Linked DNA regions of Homo sapiens: all the other regions are linked to region 3. The links are contacts of gene promoters, found by promoter capture Hi-C in blood cells and fetal thymus (Javierre and others, 2016). All regions are on one chromosome and are shown on one strand. Each heading gives the region's core, a stretch centred on a gene start or on the middle of the fragment in contact. The rest is flanking DNA. Distances are from core to core; before and after follow the strand shown.

What was found. Contacts are between HindIII fragments. The CHiCAGO score rates a contact against its expected background, and 5 or more counts as called.
Region 1: a contact is called between a fragment that was not itself captured here and the fragment with the promoter of NRP2 in region 3, in 5 of 17 cell types (megakaryocytes, M1 macrophages, erythroblasts and 2 more). The highest score is 13.3, in megakaryocytes.
Region 2: a contact is called between a fragment that was not itself captured here and the fragment with the promoter of NRP2 in region 3, in 1 of 17 cell types (non-activated CD4 T cells). The highest score is 5.2, in non-activated CD4 T cells.
Region 4: a fragment that was not itself captured here is called in contact with the fragment with the promoter of NRP2 in region 3 in 5 of 17 cell types (non-activated CD4 T cells, total CD4 T cells, activated CD4 T cells and 2 more); the score reaches 8.0 in non-activated CD4 T cells.
Region 5: a fragment that was not itself captured here is called in contact with the fragment with the promoter of NRP2 in region 3 in 4 of 17 cell types (non-activated CD4 T cells, total CD4 T cells, naive CD4 T cells and 1 more); the score reaches 10.9 in non-activated CD4 T cells.

What each region holds. Positions count from the first base shown.
Region 1 is chr2:204,888,606-204,893,424 of GRCh38, reverse strand. All of the region lies in intron 2 of PARD3B (par-3 family cell polarity regulator beta), which reads right to left. Among named protein-coding and RNA genes, the nearest start is that of PARD3B, 350 kb to the right of the region's middle. The HindIII fragment of the contact is 2,392 bases long and covers 1,797-4,188 here.
Region 2 is chr2:204,736,811-204,741,354 of GRCh38, reverse strand. All of the region lies in intron 2 of PARD3B (par-3 family cell polarity regulator beta), which reads right to left. Among named protein-coding and RNA genes, the nearest start is that of PARD3B, 190 kb to the right of the region's middle. The HindIII fragment of the contact is 2,302 bases long and covers 1,484-3,785 here.
Region 3 is chr2:205,681,139-205,685,673 of GRCh38, reverse strand. It overlaps NRP2 (neuropilin 2), which reads right to left and starts at 3,173. Exons shown (of 17, transcript NM_003872.3): 1 at 2,311-3,173. The coding sequence starts at 2,383. RefSeq lists an enhancer at 548-1,178 and a silencer at 3,653-3,772. The HindIII fragment of the contact is 6,030 bases long and covers 1,085-4,535 here.
Region 4 is chr2:204,838,441-204,842,820 of GRCh38, reverse strand. The region is part of intron 2 of PARD3B (par-3 family cell polarity regulator beta); the gene reads right to left. Among named protein-coding and RNA genes, the nearest start is that of PARD3B, 300 kb to the right of the region's middle. The HindIII fragment of the contact is 221 bases long and covers 1,717-1,937 here.
Region 5 is chr2:204,856,492-204,860,969 of GRCh38, reverse strand. All of the region lies in intron 2 of PARD3B (par-3 family cell polarity regulator beta), which reads right to left. Among named protein-coding and RNA genes, the nearest start is that of PARD3B, 310 kb to the right of the region's middle. The HindIII fragment of the contact is 8,221 bases long and covers 1-4,478 here.

The DNA of each region.
Region 1 (4,819 bases), core at 1,743-4,242, 790 kb after region 3:
TCATCTCATAAAAATCCCTCATCTGACTCTATATTCTCCTCCAAGCACTTTCTCATTTCTTTGTTAAACTTTAAAGCATAACACCTTAAAAGCACTGGCTCCACTCACTGCCTCCACTTTCATACTCCCCATTTCAATGAAATAGCTCTCCTGGGAATGATCAGTGACCTCCAACTTGTCAAATCAAATTACCATTTTTCAGAGTCCTCATCTTACTCATCTTACAGCTGATCATTCCCTTCTTCTTGAAATACTTTCTTCATTTGGGTGCTTAGACACCACCCTCCTCTGGTTCTCCTCCCTTGCCAGTTCTTGCATTTTCCCAACCTTTCTCTGACACATAGATACTGGAATGTCCTGGGCTAAGTCACAGACCTACATTCACTCCCTAAGTGGTCTCATCCAGTTTTATGATTCAAAAACCACTTCCATGCTGAGACACCCACATTTATTTCTCCATATGAGCCATTTCTATAAACTCCAGTCTTTTATAACTGTCAAATCATCTTTTGTCTAGATTTGTAATTGTTATCTCTAACTTAACACATACACTAACAACTTACTGATTCTCCCTTTCCCCAGCCCAGATCTTTCAACCAGTCTTTCTCATCTCAAGAAAAGGACTCCCTTCTTGTAGTTGCACAGAAAAGACTCTTAGACTTCCTTTTGTTTCCCCACATCTAATCCATCAATGAATCTTTTTGAGGCTGCCTTCACAATACACCCAGAATCTGACCACATCTCTTCATCTCCACTGACATCACCCTGATCCAAACCATTTGACACTTCCACCCCTATATCTTTTCTCAGTACAGCAGCTAGTGATCCTATTACTGTAATTATATATCAGATGATTTCACTTTTCTTAGTTTTCATACGACATCTTCAAAATCCATGTGTGTTTTACATATAGCACATCTCAATTCAAGGTAGCCACATCACAAGTATTCAACAGCCACACATGACTAGCGGCTACCATACTGAATAGATCAGTTATTGAGACTGTTTCATATTATTCAAAGTAAATCCTCTGGTCTAAGCTAATGAGTGCCCAATTCACTCCAAGTCAAAGTCAACATCCTCAATGTGGCCCACAATAAGATCTTCCTCCACCCACTGCACCTGTCAAGCTTCACCTCCAACTCTCTCCACAGTCACCTCCAGGCACAGGTGTTCCTTTGCTCCTGCTGGAAGAGCCTAAGCACACTCCAGACTATGGCTTTCACACTCATTGCTCTCTCCCCACCTTGATTGCACCTTCATAGCAATGTAAGCTCTTCCTCTTCTCTACAAATAAGACAGTATTCTCCATTTCACCTTGTCCCCTCTGGCTCCCCCTATCTACTTATCATTACCTGTGTTATAATGTTATATTGTCTCTCTCCCTCTCAGCAGAATATAAGCGTCATGAAGCACTCAATACATATGTGTTAAATAAATAAATGAATAATCAATGCTAAGCATTCCACTGGTTGCCATGTACAAAGACATGGTAATTTTCAATGACTACCTTCGGGGCATCCTAATTACAAAGTAAAGAGGCATGGATGCATAAACACAGAGCCAGGGGTACCAGAACAGGAGCACAAAGCTCTAGAACTGCCCAGGGGAAAATACTCCTAACTACTGAGAGCCAAAGGATAGGCAAATTCAGAAAAATTGTCCAGGGGGAACATCTGGGGCTGAATATTAGCTGGCAAATGGTAGCTCTCCAGGTATAATGGTGACAAGAGTAAGGGAAGAGACAAGAGTTCAGAGAAGAATGTGGCTGGTTTTCAATGAGACTGCAGTAAGCTTTTTACTGCAGTATTGCAAGCATCTCTTAATAAAGCAATATTAGAATCTCTCCAGTGAAAATATTTGCATTATTTTGAACACTGATTAAAACATTTTGTGCAAGATAAAGCAAAGGAATGCCATACACTATGCAAGACCCACTGTGGCACTTGGCATAAAATAAATCATCGAGCTCTAAAATCTGCTGCGGTTGCCGTCTTCAATACAGAGACCTTGCACGCAGCATACAAAAACATCTATAATGTTTACAGCACCTGGATGCCTTCACTATTAAACATCAATACAATCTGTGTTCATATCATCTCCATGCTAATCAGATCGATTACTACTGATATAGTGTCTTGTCACAGTATCGTAATGCTAATCAAACAAATGGAGCTATGGGGAGATGATTCCGATGTATAGGTATTTAATAGCACAAGGTTAAAAAAAAAAAAAAAAGAAAAGGACTTAAGAGAAAACACACAGCGTGCAGTTGAATCACGGGCAGGCAGATTCCATATCGGGTCCTGGGTGGTGCTGTTGTAATTTTGTCAGCAGCCATTGAAAAGAGAATATAATACAGTTTGATGCCATAAAATGGACTTGAAAGGAAAAAGAGATTACTGCTGCTGCTTAACATGGAAGTGGTAATTAGCTGCACAGGTAATTAGATACAGATTCCTAGAATATCCTCATGGAGGCAGTGGATGATGGCAAGAGATATTATCTCTTGCCTGTTGAAAAGGATCAATGTCACAGTTGTTTTAAATCCTAAACAACATCCGCATCCAAAACAATACCCTCCAGACAGCAAAGATGCTGTAGTAGCTGCAGTGAAACGTGCTATCACTTAATAAAAATGAGTGAGGGAACACAGGATGGGAGGCTGAGCAAGAGGGGACATCCCTGCCTCCCTGTGGCTAGCAGGCCTTAGGCCATGTGTACATCTAGCTCAGTTGTCACTTTGTGACACTTACCGTTGTGCATGTGTCCTGGTTTTCTCCTGGTTTTCTTCAGCTAATTTCATTTATAGTGAAATCCTCAGACAAAGACTATAAGGGGATGTGGTGGGGGGAGGTGGAAATCAATGATGGTACCCAAAACAAGGAAAATCCATTAACATACTGTTCCTTTAAATAATTACCCAATAAATTTAATATATATTCAATGTATACATGTTTTGGTCAGAAGCATATATTTCATCAACTGAGATACTCCCACCCTTGAATGTGGAGGCAAATGAAACTTCTTGACTAGGGGCTGAAAATTATTTTCTCCTTCTGGATATATTAGGAAAACACAAGCATTCCCAAGACCATTATGCTGTTCCATGCCTTGTCATCTTCTATTTATTCATTCAGTAAGTATTTATAAAATGCCTACTATGTATGCAGTTCTGAACCAAAGCATACCTTCCTGTACACACTAGGGCCACCACAGCATTGACACTGTGCCTAGACTGCCAGCCAGGGGCCAGATGGATTGCAGTGTGGTGAGTGCTCCTGCTGGCATGCGGAGAAGGCGGAGAAGGCAAAGCAGACATGGTAAATTCTGCATCCAGTTGCAATAAAACCGATAGTCCCAGAGAACATATGCCAAAAGTAAAATTAACTTTCCAGAAAAAAACACTGTATACCTCTTTCTATAGAAGGAGAAACACATTATATAATTCAGATGGATTTAGAATCAGCAATTCTGGGTAACTGATTAGAATGCTTCCAGTTGGAAAGAATACAGCTATTAGAAAACCAGTTTGTTATTTCACGGAAAAGAAACTTTCCGTATGTTACTCTGGAAGAGTCCTAACATCTTCAGTTTTCTCTTCACCAGCCTTGAATCAGTTGAAGGTTCAGTGGTGAACTGGATGTAAAAAGTAAGCCTAAGTAGTTTGACACTGTGAATGACTATCAGAGGTATACACAGCCATGCCTGCTGACTGTTGGAAATCATTTAACATCATAAATGAATTTTACTCAGCACATATTCAATTTTTTGTTTAAACATCTGTAATATTCCTTTAGATCATGCTGCTTCTTATAATGGCAGAATGGCACTGCCATCTAGCTGGACTTGAACAGTTCTGGAGCCAGGGCTGGCTTCATGGGTAATGCACAAAGAGGACCCCCTACTTTGTTTGGTTTATTGTTCTGTTGTTGTTGGCTTCATTCTTAATAAATTGAGAATAATGGGTCCACATTCCATTTTGCATTGGGCCCTGCAAATGTAACTGGTCCTGCTCATTGAGGAAGATGGCAAATATCAGCATCCCTTTTATATATAGTAGAGAGACAACTGCTTTATCTATCACAGGGCATTCTCTATAAAAGCTATTTGTGTCTTTCATTCTTAGGAATGCAGGAAGAATCGAGATCATGAAGAGCAGAGAAGACCTTTAGAAGGAGTCAAGCTTATTGGTGTAAAGGATGAGAAGCAATAGATTTGATGTGCTCAGAGCTGGACTGGAATGACCCTTAAGAGTTAATGGATCTAGAAAACCAATCTAGAGTAACTGGGAGGCAAAATGAAAAAGACGCACGGCTTACTCAGTTTCCCCACAATGAGAGAACAACACCAGAAGCATAAGGCATTGAGCTCTGGGAGTCCAGCAATAGCACCTCTACTTATCTCTCTACTTATCTCACCCTGGCACTGCACATAATATTCCTCATCTGGCCTTGGTTATCTAGGGATAAACAGTCTATTATCAAAAGTTTCATCTATAATTCTTTAGCTTATATACAATTTACCAGCCTTATGTTTCATAAAATACCTAGTTAGTCTCTCCTATCCTATCTTTTGTTTGTTTTTCTTACCATTTTATTGGATTCTCAAGAGATTTCTACTGTCATGAAAATGAACTTTTCTCAGGCCTCCTCATCTTGGTCCCTCCATACATTTTTTTTTTTTTTTTTTTTGAGACAGGGTCTCATTCTGTTGCCCAGGCTGGAGTACAGTGGCACAATCTTGGTTACTAGCAGCCTTGACCTCCCAGGTTCAAATGATCCTCCCACCTGAGCCTCCCGAGTAGCTGGAACTACAG
Region 2 (4,544 bases), core at 1,385-3,884, 940 kb after region 3:
AGAACTCAGCAGCATCAGATCTCATTTTAAGTAACACAAGAAAAAGTTATTTCTTTCCTTTGAGAAAGCCAGGAACAAGGCAAATATAATTTCATTTTATAAATACTAATTGTATCTTTTTCTCCTTTCTTTTATATCACTATATCAGTAATGTTTTCTGCCTTCCTATTTCCAAAAGTTGTTAGCTCTCTACAAAATTCTAACAGTTCATTAGTGATACAGGAACAAAGCAAAACCTGCCATTTTTAATTATGCTACAAGCTTCTTAAACTATGCGTTATTCAAATTGATGCCAATTATTTTGAAATGAAATAAAAATGCTACTTATCTATGAATAATATATAGGTAATATATTATTTTTCCATCCATCTAAGAGTCTCAATTTTATGATTTAGAAGTCATCATTGCTTTTTCTCTAGAGATAAAACCATAACTTAAAACACATGAACACACTTTAAGATACACAAAAACATCCACTATCAAATATGAGAAACAATATTGGGACATGTTCTATTTCAAATGTGATATAAGATTTTTAGATTAACTTTTCAGTTGCACTGGGAGCCTAGAGCTGTCATGTATGAAATCTGTGCACCCTGGTGTCACCATGCTCTGAGGAAGCCCAAGATACATGAGGAGGCTACATGTAGGCACTCTGGTGGACAGCCCCAGCTGAGCTCAGCCTTTTAGTCATCTCAGCCCAGATACAGACATAAGAGTAAAGAAGCCTTCAGAGGATTTTAGATTTCAATCTTTTGAGTCTCCCTGGCTATTGAAGCCTTGGCCATTCTAGCTGAGGCCCCAGACATCATGATGCAGAGACCAGGCATCCCTGCCATACCCTGCCTAAATTCCTAAACTGCAGAATCCAGAAGCATAATAAAACAGTTTTTGTTTTATACTACTGCGGCTAAGCTGGCTTGTTTACAGAAATAGATAACTGAAGCATGCTAGCAATAAAGTTATGGCTGGATTTGATTTCATACAGAGCAATCAGAAAATAAATGTGCCGAAGATGTAAAGAATTAAAGTTGGCCGGGCATAGTGGCTCACACTTGTAATTCCAGCCCTTTGGGAGGCCAAGGCAGGCAGATCACTGGAGGTCAGGAGATCGCGATCAGCCTGGCCAACATGGCAAAAACCCTGTCTCTACTAAAAACTAAAAAAAAAAAAAGATTAGCCAGGCATGATAGCACACCTGTAATCCCAGTTACCTGGGATGTTGAGGCAGTAGAATCACTCGAACCTGGGAGGTAGAGGTTGCAGTGAGCCGAGATGGCATCACTGCACTCCAGCCTGGGTGATGAGAGAGTGACTGAGACTCCATCACAAAAAAGAAAAAACAAAAGAAAAAGAAAGAAAGAAAACAGAATTAAAGTTTAGGGAATATCTTTGAAACTAATACAAAAAAAAAAGGGGCATTGTATATTTCTTTTAAAAATGTCATTACTGTGTTATGATTACAAAATAAAGCTGAGAAGCTTTATTCTTAAAAAGGAAATGCCTGCCCTCTTAAATAATATTAAAACCAAAAATTTTTTTCCGATAAAAATAACTGTTTATCTTACATTGAGAAAATACACAGATAAAATAGACATAATGAGGCCAGGCATGGTTGGCTCACACCTGTAATCCCTGCAGTTTGGGAGCATCACTTGAGGCCAGGGATTTGAGACCAGCCTGGGTAACATTCCAAGACCTTATATCCATTACAATAAAATAAAACAAAAACATTAGCCAGGTGTGGTGGCACACACCTGTAGTCCTAGCTACTCAGGAGGCTGAGGCTGGAGGTTTGCATGAGCCCAGGAGTTTGAGGCTGTAGTGAGCTATGATTGTACCACTGCGCTCCAGCCTAGGCAACAGAGCAAAATACTGTCTCTCAAAATAATAATAATATAATAATAGAGATGATGAAACCCCCACACACATTTCAATAAATAGACAGATACCCAGGTCCAGAAAACCAACATACTCATTTCAATAAATAGACAGATGCCATGGCACAATGAACCAACACACACATTTCAATACATAGATAAATGGAAAGGCTGAGTGAACCAACACACACATTTCAATACATAGATACTGGGGCACAATCAACCAAAACACACATTCCAATGAATGAGTAGATCCCAAGGCACAGAAAACCAACACACACATTTAAATAAGTTGACAGATGCTGAGGTACAGTGAAGTAACACATACAATTCAATAAATAGGCAGGTGATAAAGCACAGAGAACTAACATACACATGCCAGTAAGTAGATTAAAAAGTAGATTTAAAAAATTGTCTCCCAAAAACCAAAGTAGAAACTCTTAGGCAGAATCCTAAGAATTCCCAGTGATACTCACCCTTGCATAATCCTCCCACTGAGTATAGCTAGAACCTGTGCATATGATGAGACATCATCCCTGGAATTATTTTATGTTATATGATACAGTTGGCCTTAAACCAGAGAGACTATTTAGTAGGTCTCATCTAATTACATCAGCCATTTAAAAACAGTTTTCTCCTGATGTTAGCAGAAGGGGAAGTTAGGGAAGAAAAAAAATCAGATGTTGCTCATTTGCCGATGAAAGGGAAATGCAAGAGAGAATTGGGGCACCCTCTAGGAGCAGGGAGTGACCATAATGAACAGCCAGAAAGGATGTGGGGACCTCAGACCTGCCTGTCTAGGAGGTCAAACTCTGCAACAGAGCATCCCAAAGCCTCCATAAAAGAGCCCAGCCTGGCTGATACCACGATTTTGGCCTTGTGAGACCCTAATTAGAGAACTCAGCTCAGTCTGTCCAGATTTCTGGCCTTCAGAACTCCTACCTAATAAACTAGACTTGTTTTAAGAAGCTATGTGGTAATTTATTACGCAAAAATATAAAGCTAATACTCTAGCCTCAGATTCCAATCTCATTAGTTCCACATTAGAAAGTTAGATTTACAATATACACAAAAATGTAGCACTGTTATATACCAACAGTGACCTAGCTGAGAATCAAATCAAGATCTCAATCCCTTTTACAACATCAGGAAAAAAAATAAAATACCTAAGAACATATGTAATGCGGGAGGTAAAAGATCTCCACAAGGAGAACTACAAAACACTGCTAAAAGAAATCACAGATGACACAAATGGAAATGCATCCCATGCTCATGGATTAGAAGGATCAATATTGTGAAAATGACCATACTGCCTAAAGAAATCTACAGATTCAATGCAATTTCCATCAAAATACCAACATCATTTTTCACAGAATTAGAAAAAAAAATCCTAAAATTAATATGGAATCAAAAAAGAGCCCGAATAGCCAAAGCTATCCTAAGCAAAAGTTTTTGAACAAATCTGGAGGTATCACATGACTGGACTTTGAATTATACTACAAGACTACAGTTACCAAAACAGCATGGTACTGGTATAAAAGTAGGCACATAGATCTATGGAAAAGAACAGAGAACCCAGAAATAAAGCCAAATATGTACAGCCAACTGATTTTCAACAAAGCATACAAAAACATGAATTGGGGAATGGACATCCTATGTATTAAATGGGAAAACCGGCAAACCACATATAAAAGAATAAACTGGATACCTATATCTCACTTCATACAAAAATCAACTCAAGATAGACCAAAGACTTAAATATAAGATCTGAAACTATAAAAATTCTAGCAGACAATGTTGGAAAAACTCTTCTAGACACTGGCCTAGGCAAAGAATTCATGACTAAGATCCCAAAAGCAAATGCAACAAAAACAAATAAATGGAACCAAATTAAGCTAAAAAGCTTCCACACAGCAAAAGAAACAATAAGCAGAGTAAACAGACAACACCCAGAATGGGAGAAAATATTTGCAAAGTTCACATCTGACTAAGGACTAGTATCCAGAATTTACAAGGAACACAAACAAATCAGCAAAACAAATAATCTCATTAAAAAGGGGGCAAAAGACATAGACATTTCTCAAAAGAAGACATACGAATGGTCAAAGGCATGAAAAAATGCTCAACATCACTAACCATCAGGGAAATGCAAATTAAAACCACAATGAGTTATCACCCTACTCCTGCAAGAATGGCCACGATTAAAAAGTCAGTGGGACGCAGTGGCTCATGCCTGTAATCCCAGCACTTTGGGAGGCCCAGGCAGGCGGATCACCTGAGGTCGAGACCAGCCTGACCAACATGGAGAAACCCCATCACTACTAAAAATACAAAAATTAGCTGGGCATGGTGGCATGTGCTGTAATTCCAGCTGTAATTCCATAGCTGTAATTCCAGCTACTAGGGAGGCTGAAGCAGGAGAATCACTTAAACCCAAGAGGCAGAGGTCCAGTGAGCTGAGATTGGGCCATTGCACTCCAGCCTGGGCAACAAGGGCAAAACTCCATCTCAATAAATAAATAGTCAAAAAACAATAGATAATGGTGTGGATGTGGGGAAAAGGGAATGGTTATACACTGCTGGTGGGAATGTAAATTAGTACAACCTCTATGAAAAACAGTATGGAGAATCCTTAAAGAGATAAAAGTAGATCTACCATTTAAT
Region 3 (4,535 bases), core at 1,924-4,423:
TAGCGGCTGCACTGCGGTCTGGCGAGGCGGCGCAGTGAGGAGAGGGGCAGCCTGGTGCGCGTCGCCCATGCGGCCTCCCAGCCACGCGCCAGCCCAAGGTGCCGCGCGCCGCGACCGCCGTGTTATTTGCTCAGTTGCTCCCCCGCGCGCACCTTCTGCCCCATCTTGCTCCTTCCCAGAATTGGTTCTCGTCGCCGGCGGCGGCGGCTGAACCAGGCCCCCTTCCCGGCCGGCGCACACCGGGTGAGTCAGAGGTATGTGGCTTGGCCTCGCCCTGGCCACCCGCTGCCGGCTCCCAGGGTGCCAGTGCTTTGCTCCGCCTGAAAGCCTGAGCAGCTCACGGCTTGAGATCGCATTTTGGGGAGCTGGAGGTCCCTGGCAGGTCCCAGCTTCGAATCCCACCCTGAGATCCCACCCCGGGTCCGAGGTTGCCCCGAACTCCGCGCCTCTGGGCTTCTCTGGAAGTGACGCAGCACTGCTGGGGATTGGGATGGGAGGGGGTTCTGCAGAGAGCGCGGCAGGCAGGTGGCAGAGCGGGAGTGGGTCCAAGCGGGTGTCGCGCACACACGTACACACACTCCAAGCAGCGCTCGGGGACAGATGTGCGAACATCTGGGGTAGGAGATGGCCCCTGAGTCTTCACGACCCCTCCCGCTCCGCACAGCACACGGAACCTGAAGTTGCATGTGTGTGCGCGCCAGTGTGAGTGCCAGTGTGTGCGCGCTCGCGCGCTGGGGCCTACTGGAGTCCGTGTCTGAATACATAATATACTGTGGGCATCCTCACGGCGCGCGCGCGTGTGCACACACACACAGCGAATCACACAAACATACATAATTTACGCAGCATCCAGGTCTGTGAGTGGTAATTTAATTCCGCTTCAAGCTGGGAATTTAGAAATAAGGCAAGGGGGAACGGCGGAGGCCCAGAAAATCTCCCCAAGTGGGACCCCCACCCATCCCTTTGGCAGGATTTGCAGCTGCCCTGAAGACCACTTATGGCAAAGAAAGAGCTGCAAACGTGCGGATCTGGGTGGCAAAGGCATTCCTGAATTTTCTTCCCCCCTCAAATAAATGCCCAAGCTTAAAGTGGTGTGTGTGCTGGTGGGGGGCGTGAGGAGAAGGAAGGGTGACAGTACCAGATGCAAGGCTAGGATCCACTAGCTGATGTTCTGGGGATGCCAAGGAGGCTGCAGAGTTAGCTCTACCACTGCCGCCATCGCCTTGCAAGTGCCTTGGGTGAGGGCACTTCAGGAAGGCTTTTTCGCCTTTCTTTCACCCATTTCCTCCATAGATGGTTTCTCCATCTCCAATCACCTGTAGCAGCTGCTAAGAGTTTTGTTGTTAGATTCCAGACACTGTTCTCAGAGGGGTAGGGAGGCTCACTCTAGAGAGTGGTCCGAGAAGGAAGCACAAACCCCACTGCATTCCCCATGGATTCCCCTTTCCAGAGCATACCCCTTGCCGCTCCCCACAAATGCGGTCCCCAGACTGTTCTGGGCCTCGAAATGCTTATCTCCACAGCAGCCTGTCCACACACCCTTTTTGGCAGTGGTTGAGAACAAATTCCACTCAAAAGTTTCTAACCACTTCACAAGAGTGAGAGACCTTCGAGGGCCTGCAATTTGTTTTAGCTAATAATAATTTCTAAAAGAACGTACGATTTACTTTCCCAGACAACACATGGATGAAGAGAGAAGAGACCAACCGTCTTGGTTGCCAGCAGCACCCAACCCCAAGCCCCTATCTCAGCCACAAGCCAACTTGCTCCACCAGCCTGAGCCTTATGATTCTGAAGCATAACCAGTCATTCTCCAAAGAATCTACAGCATCTGAAAACCAAAACTAAACTCTTGTCTTTCCCAAGCCCTTCAGTTAACATTGCTCAATGTAGCTAAGTGGAGGGAATGCAAATGATTTATATTTCACTGGCTAGTTGGAGAAACTCAAGGGAGATGTGTTCTGCTTCAAGACAGGGAAAAAAAATTCCCAAAAACTGTAATGCAAAGGCTTTGTAGTATTTTTAAACCTTTGATTCAGTCCATATGTGACATATGAACACCGCCAAATTCTGTTTCAAAACACACTCACACACACACACACACACACACACACACACTCCTAGCAGGAGAGGAAAGTTGGGTTTTAGCAGCCGTGGTGGTGTAGGAAGGGCCGGCTGGGATCTCTCTTTAAATTATTGAGTACTGAGGGAGCCTTCTTCTGTGCCGTTCTGCGTGGCCTTCCTGCTTTAGCGGTCACTTTTAAAGGGGAAACCATGTTGCAATAAATAGAAAAACTTTCAGTGGCTTACCTGGTTGGCCTCTCACTTGGTGTCTTGAAAAGTAGAGGGCTAAGAAAACCCAGGTGAGAGGAAACATATCCATTTTGGAGAAGGTGGCTCTTTCCAGAGCTGGGTTCGTAGGTTTCTTGTTTAAATCTTTGTGTTTTTCTCTCTTTTATTTTCCTCCTTACAACGTCTTATGCAGAGGTTTCTAATGGTCAGCGTTTCCCTCCTGAGTCCTGGTGGCTTGTCTTCACCTCTATTCTTGCTGGAATTTCCACCTCACCAGGAGGAGAGTAGCTCCTGAAATCAGCAAAGAGGGAACAAGCCGGGAAGAGAACACGGTTTTCCTCTTAAAAACAAAACGCATATATGTTCTCTCCAGTTCCTCAAAGTGTCATTTCCTTTATCCTACAAATATCACGAGTATTTCCCGAAAGCCAAGCGTAACAATAATGATAATAATAATAATTAAAACCAAGACTTGCCTTGGGCATCACACGGCCCCCAGGCAGCTGTGTGATCTCAGAGGCGTAAACTGACACACATCCCGCGGCACCCTTGACGGACACACGGGCGGAGGCAGCCGCCGCCGGACAGCCCGAGTGGAAGGCGGCCGCCCTGCTCTTGTCCTCGCCGGGTTCCCCCGGCGGGAGCCTCCCCCAACGGCTACACCCGCTTGGCCAGCCTCTCGAGGGGAGTCTGAGGAAGGAAGCTGCTGCTGCTGTTGCTGCTGCTGGTGCGGCGGCGGTGGCGGCTGGGATCGCCTGGGAGTGAGCGAGCCCCTCTCCGAGTTCGCTGGCGCCCGCCCTCACCTCCACCTCGCCGAGTGTCTGTGCGGCTGAGGATGTGCTGGGGGCCGGCTGCAGGCTGGTGCCTCGCTCGCGATCTCTGCCTCCCCTCCGGCTCCCCACTGCCTTTTCAGGCCGAGCAGCATGTGGATGTCAGAGCCGCGGCAGAGCTATCCGATTACGCGCCGGCTCAGGGCCCGCCCCTTCTGTGTTCCTGATTAAAGAGGCAGCCGCGGAGACGCGCGGCGCAGAGCAGAGTGCCGCGGCACCCAGCTCGGGCGGGGCGGCGACGGCTTCTCTCGGGCCGCCGCAGGATCGAAGTTAAGGCGGCGCCCATCCCACCACCCCTCGCCCGCCCCGCATCTCCCGATCGCCCCCGCGCACCTCCGCGCCGGGCCGCCGGTGCGTAACGCCCTGGGGAAGAAGCGCCCCCGGGCACCCCCAGGGCGCGCCGCCTTGGCCGTGTCGCCCCCACCCAAGGGAGACCCCGGGGGGACGGGGGGAAAAGCCTTGTTCCCCCTAAATTCCACGACTCCGATGCCACACACGCAGAACCCAACACAATGCCACGCGCGATGGCGTTACAAGAGGAGTTGGGTGGCGTACGGTGTTTGGGGTAGCGAGCCGGTCGGCAGCTCAGCCATGCGTTCGAACAGGCAGCGGTGCGTGGCGGCGACACACACCGTCAGCCCGGTCTGAATAAAACCCCAAACACTCGCTGCGTTTACTACTCAGATCCTTTGTTATGTCCCAAACATGCTCTGCTCCTCTCTGGGTTAGGATTTCGTTACCCCTGCGCCTTTAACTGTAACTACCCTAAAAAGAGGAAAGACTTTCTTCAGCAAATAATTTCTTCAGGTAATTAAATTGGATTCCATCAAGTTCCCCCGAAAAAGTATAGGTGCTTGAAGGCGTCTCATCCAAATGCTACTGTAACTACGTCTATTCACATTTTCCCCCATGGAAACGTGGTCACAAAGCCTAGAGAAAGAAAACATCATTATGCCAACTATTTTTAAATGGAGGCGTGAAAACTGTTTAGAGGGAACTGCAAGCTAACAGTTGGGGAAACACTTGTATCTTTGTTTCTGAGGATGGCTTTGTGGATTCCAAACTGTCTTGCTTCACCAGACACCTATTACTACATTATCATAAAGACTGCAACAGAAACAGCCTAAATTACACCCTGCACATGTACACCTTTTCTGCCACAAAAGAGGTATATGAAAAATAAGAAAATTCAGAAAAATATTTACAGATTAAGATTTTTTTTAAATTAAGAAAGTAAAATTTTCTGTAGATTAAGAAAAATACAGTTTCGGTGACGAGAAACACACACCTGACTACCCATTTTCTTCTTGGCTTGTACTTGTGGATTCTTCTGGGTGGTTTCCCTCCTTATCTGGACTTGCCCATTAGCTTTATCACTTTTAGTGTTTGAAAAATCTGTAACTCCCACTTAAC
Region 4 (4,380 bases), core at 578-3,077, 840 kb after region 3:
CAGCTCTAGAGAAAGCAGAAAAGCAGCCCACAGCGCAGGCCTGCTGTACAGAGCGATTTTCTTCATCAGAAGTCAGGTTTCAACAAAAATGTAAAATGTTTAAACATTACAAAACACATTGTTTCAAAATCATCTTTTCCAGACATTTGCTCAGCAATTCTAACCAGCTGTTACAGAAACCACTCTCCTTCTCTAGGGAGTTTTCAAAGATAAATTTAAATGGGAAAAACCCCCTTAATGTTTTAGGCACATTTAAAAGAAATTTATTTATTAGAGAGAATCTCCCTCTCCATTCTTTTTCTGGCACAGATCCTCTTACCTTTTATAATAACTCTTCATACCAGATGTTGTCAATATATTGCTCCTCTTTTTTTAAGGTGCTTACTTAATCCTCCTCATTTGAAAAAAACAATATTATTCTTTAAAGGAAATGAAAGCAGCTGAAACCACCTCAATTCTGTAGCATACAAACTCTAGACAATCATTTTTCTTTTTCCCACTACCACTCAAGCACCCATGCTGGTGTCAACAAATCTAATATTTAGTACCCACCTGGGAGTTTTATATCACCTCATTTTAGATGCTGGAGAGATTAGAGAAAGGCTTGAAAGACTATTGCTTTGAAAAATAACCGCTATTAAGAGCACACACAAGCACATGTTCACACACAGGAATATACACAAACTCAATATCCTTCCATGAAATGAAATCTAACATAAGAAAATCCAAATAATTAGAAAAAATTAGAATTTTCAAATGATTTTTAGTCGGGGAATTTTTCAGAGATTTAATTTTCTATGAGGCAGTTGAACCTTCTGGAATATTACCAACCTGAAGTATGTTATTCATGTGAACTCATCTAAATTGAGTTTGCTATTCAATTTCACATATTCCTACAATGTTAAAAAGTTTTCTCTTATTATTTGTTATTTTAAAGTTGTGTTGACACCAAAAAAAAACCCCACCAAAAAACTTCTGCAAAAAAATTAGCTAATTATTACTGTGATACAATTTTGATCATTTGTATTTTATACAATGGCCTATTTAAAAGGGACAAAGATCCTAAGTTTAACTGAGGAAACTGCCATCTTCCCTGTAGAAGAGGAAAAGAGAATATTATTTTCACCAGAAATGGGGAAAAATAAACCACAGAAAATTTGCCCTCATCGCAAAACAAAAGAAAGCCAGTATTCCAGTGATCTTATGAAAATCTGTCCATGTTAAAGACCTGCATCTTCAGATATAAAATCAATTAAACAGCAGTATATTAAAGTGACCCAAAACAGGCACTGACAGTAACATCCCACTCTAGAATGCTACTTGTTGCACTTGTAACTCAACAAGACACAACAGGGGCATTTGTCTACTTTACAAATAAGTAAAATTAAAGAAAAGTAAGGCATACTGTTAGAGTAACAGGAATTTTTTGCCTTGTTCTTGTATATGTGCTCTGGGTTTTCTAACACCTGGTAGTTTTGCTTTAGCTTTGTCTCAATGTGGGCATGCACCTTTTGTCTGGCTCCTTCCCAAGGATACCCTTGAGGCTATAATTTTCCATTCCACTCTGTTTTGGAGCTTCCATGCACTAGTAACCTCTCCGGCAGCATCCAACCTATCACATAAGAAGGAGGGAGCCTTACCAAGTACAAACAGATAAGAAGAAGCAAGCAGAAAACTAAATATTTAACATAAGAAAACCGAGTTGCAGAACAAGCTTCTTTGTGTTGTCCTTGCCAATGTGCTCTTCATGAGCAAAGGTGACTGATCAAATATGACCACTATTTGGGAAAAAGAAAGAAAGAATCAAATTATGTACAGTAGTCTTCCCTTACCCACAGGGGATGTGTTTCCAGACCCCTAGTGGATGCCTGACCCTGGTAATAGCACCAAACCCTATATACACTATGTTTTTTCCTATACTTACATACAATAAAGCTTATCAGTTAGGCAGAATAAGAGACTAACAATGCTAATAATGAAAAAGAATAATTACAGCAATATACTGCAGTAAAAGGTATGTGAAAGTGTTCTTTCTTTCAAAATATCTCATTGTAATGATCTCAACCTACTTTGCGACCGTGGTTGACCATAGGTAACTGAACTGCAGAAGATGAAACCCTGGATGACACTACCGTACTTATCATTGTGGTTAGATAAGACAACCACACGTATTTGCCTCATACAATATACAATTTTGTTATCTTACTGTAGTCAACATCGTGCAAGTTGTTCCAGTTCTATGGAGAGTTGAAAGCTATTGTCTAAGGACCATAGTTAAAAAAAAAAAGGACAAATTCATCTATTTTATTCACTTCTTTTTTAAAATCTATTTTCATGTATTCGTATTAAAGTGGGTAATTTGGGAGGGTAAAACAAAGATTCTGGGTCCCTTTTTACTAGGACTAAAGGAAAGCATGATATTGGAAGTGTAGAGATATTCCCCACTTTCTATTAATTTTATGAAGTAAAACACAGCTTTGGAGTAGAATTTTTCATTAGGTAAAAGTTTTCCTAAAATATTGCTAAGGGTCATTCAATTATTTCTCTACAGCTACCCCAAATAACTTGAATTTGGAAATGCTTCTGATTTTTAAAACTTGCTTCACCCTTAATCTCTGACCCTTCAATTTATATTCAGCTATATTTTTATATGATTTAAAGTATTTCTACTGAGTAACTTCACATGAACTGCTACATTAACTACCTTAATAATATTAAATTGTATAAATTGTATAAGTTTTGACGTAGTGATGGAAAAAGGATGTAAATCCCTTACCTTCCCTCCCTGAATATGTGCTTTTGGGGCTGAGGAAAGAGAAATATACGTAGAGGGAGGGAATACCACTTTTAAGAAAGATATATTAATTATACTTTTAAGTGGCACTAAAATATTTATTGTTAAATGGGACAAGTCTCTTACACATTAAAAGCCGCAGAAACCTAGCCTTACAGACAATGAGAGCTGTCTATTCAAGTTTTTAAACTTCTATGACAAATCTTTTTTCAAAGTATTATCTTGAACAAAAACAGTTGTTCTTCAAAAACCAAATTCTTCATGAAGAATTTGGTTGCCAGTTCATAAGATGATGTTTTTTCTTGCTGATTATACTCAGTTTGTTTGTTTTCCTCCCTGCATTTGTTGTCAAATGCACACACAAAATGAGGCACAAGAGAAAAGGAGGGACATACAGGGAACAGTGGGATGTGGAGAAGAGAAAGATTATACAAATCATCTCTCTCTAAAAGAGTAAATAGAAAGTTAAGAATTTCGAGTGCATGGCCACATCAGATTGAGGCAGGGAGTACATTGAAGAAGTCGCCACAAAGCTGTGGCCAGGCTTAAGGTAAACATTTCTAAAATCAAAATGGAAAATACAGTTAATCAATGGGAAAAGTCTGTTTGGTTTACATATATAATACTTAAGTGTTTTCCTGAAACTACCTTACTAGAAGTAAGAGAATACTTTTACTCAACAAAATGTCTACAAAATGACTTAGAAAATGTAAAATTGATACGATGATATGTGCCTTGCTAACACAACTGACCTTGACCAGAGAAATTTATGCTGCTGTAAAAGCACAGATTTTGTGCCTCCTGATGCCATGAGCTGAATATAAGGAAGCACCGTTTCTCTGATACTCCAAAACACTAACTGTAGCTAATAGAAACCCAGAACAGGGCTGACCTTGTAACATTATGGCAAACAACTCCCTTCTTAAAATCAAATCCTAAATGGAGCCCAGCAGAGATAAATTAACTACAGATTTGGCAAATCAACATCTAGCTTACTTTGGTGTAGCATATGACTTTAACTTCATGGTTAAAATCTCTTTCCTCAACTTATGATCTACACATAGTGAACAGAGGATACCCTAGAACCCTCTTACACAATTTTTACTCAGGGAGCCAGGTTAGGCCCTTTCAACGTCTTGCAATTTTGTTGTTTTTTTAAATTTTTATTTCATTGTGTATTGATACACAATAGATGTACATGTTTTTGGTTACATGTAATAATTTAATACATTCATACTTTTAAAGATCAAATAAGTATAATTGGGATATCCATCATCTCAAATATTTCTCTTTTCTGTATGCTAGAAAGATTCTAATTATTCTCTAATAGCTATGTGAAATATACATTTCCGTAAACTGCAGTCACCCTACTGATTCTATCAAACACTAGGTCTTATTTCTTCTATCACACTGTATATGTGTACCCATAGCTCAAAAATGGCCCTGCACAGCATACCCTTCCATCCTCTGCTTCTTTGAAAGAAAAATTTTATTTGACTCAAAACCTGATGCAGCCAGGCATGGTGGTTCATGTCTGTAATCCCAACAGTTTGGGAGGTAGAGGCAGGTGGATCAACTGAGGTCAG
Region 5 (4,478 bases), core at 1,451-3,950, 820 kb after region 3:
GAAAACTCTACATTTTTGTGTCATATTAGCCAAACCTGACTTCACTGTACATTATTTTAGCCCAATGCTAAACAAGAACCACTGCTAATCTGCACATATGAAGCCTGGGAAATAAGGTCTTCAATAAAGATTTTTTTTTAACTTATCAAAAACAAACATGGATTAAACTTTTTATAAATAATGCTTCAAAGAGATATCTTTTCAGTAGTAAAAACAGACTGAATGTGTCCAAATATTCAGTCAGCATAGTTGGTTTAGATGATCTCTAAAGGGCTCTTCCATATGAAACTACGTTCCAATCACACCAGAGGGAGCACACTTAGGAAACTTAATAACAACAACTCTTCTCTTTCCTTGCAGTTAACAATTGAATATCTTTTACCAGTCTCCATTCTGCCAAAACGTTTTCTGTATACAAGCTGGCAGCACTGGAGAAGTTGTCGTCTTCTTTCTTTCCAACTCTTAGCATTGGTAGCCAAAAGTCTCTTTGTTGCTCAAATAGTCCATGCCATCTGCCAGCAGTTTCTCCATCCTGCGGTACCATCTGCCAAGCTCTGCTTCAGCGTCCAGGCCACGCTGCCTGAATGCTATTTCAAATGGCTGTCTCACCAGAAGAGAGAGCAAGCAAACCAACACCTTTTGGTTTTAACCATTCTTGGTAATCGTCACAAACACTCTCCTCTAGCTGACTGGTTCTAAAGATGGCAAAAAGCTCAACAATTTGAATGAAACAATTTCCTTTGATTTTTTTTTTAGCCTAAGAAATTAGACAGCTATAGAATGTTAATATAATCAGTCATTGATATAACACATTTTTATAGCTGCGATTCCTTTTTGTTTTTATAATGTATTCTTAATTACAATAAATTATTCTTCAGATAAAAAAGCAAAAAGGGGAAAACAATCCGTATTTCTACAGTTAATCCTGATTATATTAAAAGCAACTGCTGGCAGAAATTAATAATTCAGATGAATGTTATTAACAGTATAATACTAACTTTATGCTGCACTGCACTATTCTTCATTCTAATCTGCTTAAAATTCTTGACTTTAAAGTAGAAAACAACAAGGGCTGCATAACAGTCCCTTAACAAGGTTAAGCCTAAAGAGTTCCATTAATATCCTCCCTAAGGCCACCAGGAAATTCCTTAAAGGAAGAGAGTTTCAGGATTTGCTGTGGGTTATGCTCTAGGGCTTTTCTTTCTAGATTTGTTACTGCTATGAATTTATCTTACGTCTCCATCACTGCCCAGCCTTCAAGGGAGGCCCTCTTTATTCCCAGTCATCAAAACTCCTAGGATAACTCAACTACGATGACATGTGGAAGACTTTGCTATACTAGCACCAAAATTAAATTAACATTCAACTGAATGTCAGGAATCAAGTTCATTTATAAGAAATTATATTGTTCTACCCAAATGTCAGAAAATGTACATATTTTAAGATGCAACATCTGAGGTTTTCCAATCTTTACAGATAGCAATGTACACCATAGGCATGTCTGACCTTTATAAATGGGGGAGGGTGCTCTTATTGTATTAACCTCCACATTTCTTTTACATCTTTTAGCTTTGTAGACCATAGATCTTGATGTTGGGGTATATGGCTATTCTCATCCATTTCTAAAAACATAATCTACTTTTATACTCCTAATATGTGCAGAGTAAAGTTTCTAGTTTTTATTTCCCAAATTTTTATTCACAACAGAACAGCACATACTTGTTAAAGTCGAATACTTCCGAATACCACTAAATAAAATTTCATCATACCTATCATTATGCATATTCTGCTCACTTCAAGAAAAAGAAAAAAGAAAAGAAAAAATTGGCTATTAAATATTGGTCTTCAATGTCATATTTTTTTGCCTTGAAGCATACTATATTTAATAAACATCATGTAAAAGTATTCACATCTAAGATTTTACATTCTAATTTCACTGAAATTTGAGAATAATAAAGTTCTTAAAAACTTTTACTTTTCCTCAAATACTTAGACAAACCCAGGTGAATATTGGAAACATGAGAATGATGCATAATTTTGTGAGGGTTAAAAGCAATAAATACTCTGAAGCATAATGTTTTTAAAAATTCTAACTGAAATCATAAATGAGTTTTTAAATAAATTGTATATATTGAAGGTATATAACATGTTATATTATATATGTATTTTACTATATTTTTTATATATTATATATGTATATATAATATATACACCTATATATACAGTAAAACTGTTACTGTTGTAGAACAAATTAACACACCCATCATCTCACATAGTTAACCATTTCCCCTCCCATGGCAAGAACAGCTATAATCTATTCATTTAGCAAAAATCGTAAATACAATACACTATCATTAATGTACCCTATGTTGCATCCTTTGACCTAAATCTATTTCCTCCCCTACCCCAACTCTGGCAACCACTGTTTTATCCTCTCTATATATTTCATTTTCCTTTTTTTTTTTTTTTTAGATTCCACATATAAGTGAGTTCATGTAGTATTTTCCTTTCTGTGTCTGGCTTGTTTCATTTAGCAAAATATACTCCAGGACCATCCATGTTGTGGCATAGAGCAGAATCTCCTTTTTTAAAAAGGCTGAATAATATTCTATTGTGTATACACACCACAGTTTCTTTACCGATAAATACCTAGATTGTCTCTGTATCCTGGCTATTGTGGATAATGCTGCAATGAACATGTTTCAATTGAGGTGATCCTCTCTGGTACTTTAACTTTAAAGATATTTTACCACTTGATGAAAACTAAGGTTAATATGATAGTATTAACGTATTTGATAAAATGAGCAATTAACTAGTTTCCTTAAGTTTAAATATGCTGTTTATATATACTTAAACTTATGGAATCCATTGAATCCATTTACAATATTATGGATACACTATTGTATCCATTTATACCATAATTTAAAGTTTGGAACTGTGAACCCAGATAAATTCCATTGAAGTACCGTTTGAAAGACAAATCCAAATTACCAAGTGTTCAGGACTAACCCTCCCTTTAGACGATTAAGGATCTGTAGAAGGATATGTTTGTCTCATTCCTTTTGTCTTGGGATGAGCTCTTAATGGGGTTCAGAATCTCTAATTATGTCATCTTGACATTTGAGAAAACTTCAGAAGCAGGAAGGCCATTCTCACCTTCCCTTGGCTCTTGTCCCCTGAAGCAGGCTATAAAATCGAGGATGTCACTCTCTGACTTTCTCCCCAGAAGTGTTCTTCCTATGCTTGGAGGAAAGAAACATTCTTATCTCTGAAGACACAGAGAAGAATATGAACAAGAAGGCCTTGTTTGACCCCTGTCCCCCAGTTCAATTCCATTAGATCATACTCCCTTTGTCCAAAAATATTTATCTATAATTATCAACTTCTTAATCAAACTTAGCATAAAAATACACAGGTCTCTCTGTTTTTTTGCATCTTAATTTTCCTATGAAGTGTCCTATGTCACATAAAACTTTTATATTAAGTACATTTGTATGATTTTTTCTCATTCATCTGTCTTTTCCTATAGGGGCCTCAGTCATGAACCTAGAAATGGGTGAGAAAACAAATTTTCCTTCCCCTACATTCTCTTCCACATAAGATAACTTATAAAGGCACCAATAGCTTGAGAGACAGATACAAACAGGATTTATTCTTAAGATAAAGAGTTACTTTTAGATGAAGGCTCTCCCCTAAAATGTATGCTGCTAATTTATGAACTGCTGAAGAAAGATGTGCCTTCATGAATCTGAATGATATTAACTGAAGAAAGTTGAAAAAAGATGCTCAAAGTTCACCAGGGGATTGATATGCAGCATTCAAACAGTGATGCAAAACAGATAATAATATGAATTTCACTGGCTTCAGCAATAACTGATAATAAGTGAGAGATTCTTTTTTAAATTTAAAAGTGGAGTGGGGGTCAAATATGGAACAAGAAAAGACCCATAACAACCAAAGCAATCTTGAGCAAAACAAACAAACAAACAAAAAACCTGGAGGCATTACACACTGATCTAAAAAAGAAAATCCTAAAACTCTTTTATAATCAAAACAGCATGGTACTGGATGGCATAAAACAGACACGTCAACCAATGAACAGGACAGAAAACCCAGAAAGAAATCTAAGTATTTATAGTAAATTATGACACACAGGTGCCAAAATTGGAAATAAGTACAGTCTCTTTAATAAATGGTGGTGGGAAAATGGGATATTCACAAGCAGAAAAATGAAATTGAACTTTTATCTCACAACATATTCAAAAATTTACTCAAAAGAATAAAGAAATCTAACATAAAACTTGAAACTATAAGTAGAAGAAAACAAGGGAAATGCTCCATGACACCAGTCTGGGAAATGATTTATTGGATAGCATTCCAAAAGCACAGGCAATGAAAGCAAAAACAGAAAAACAGGATTGCATCAAACTAAAAATTGTTTCCTCTGCACAACAAAGGAAACAGTTAACAGAGTGAAG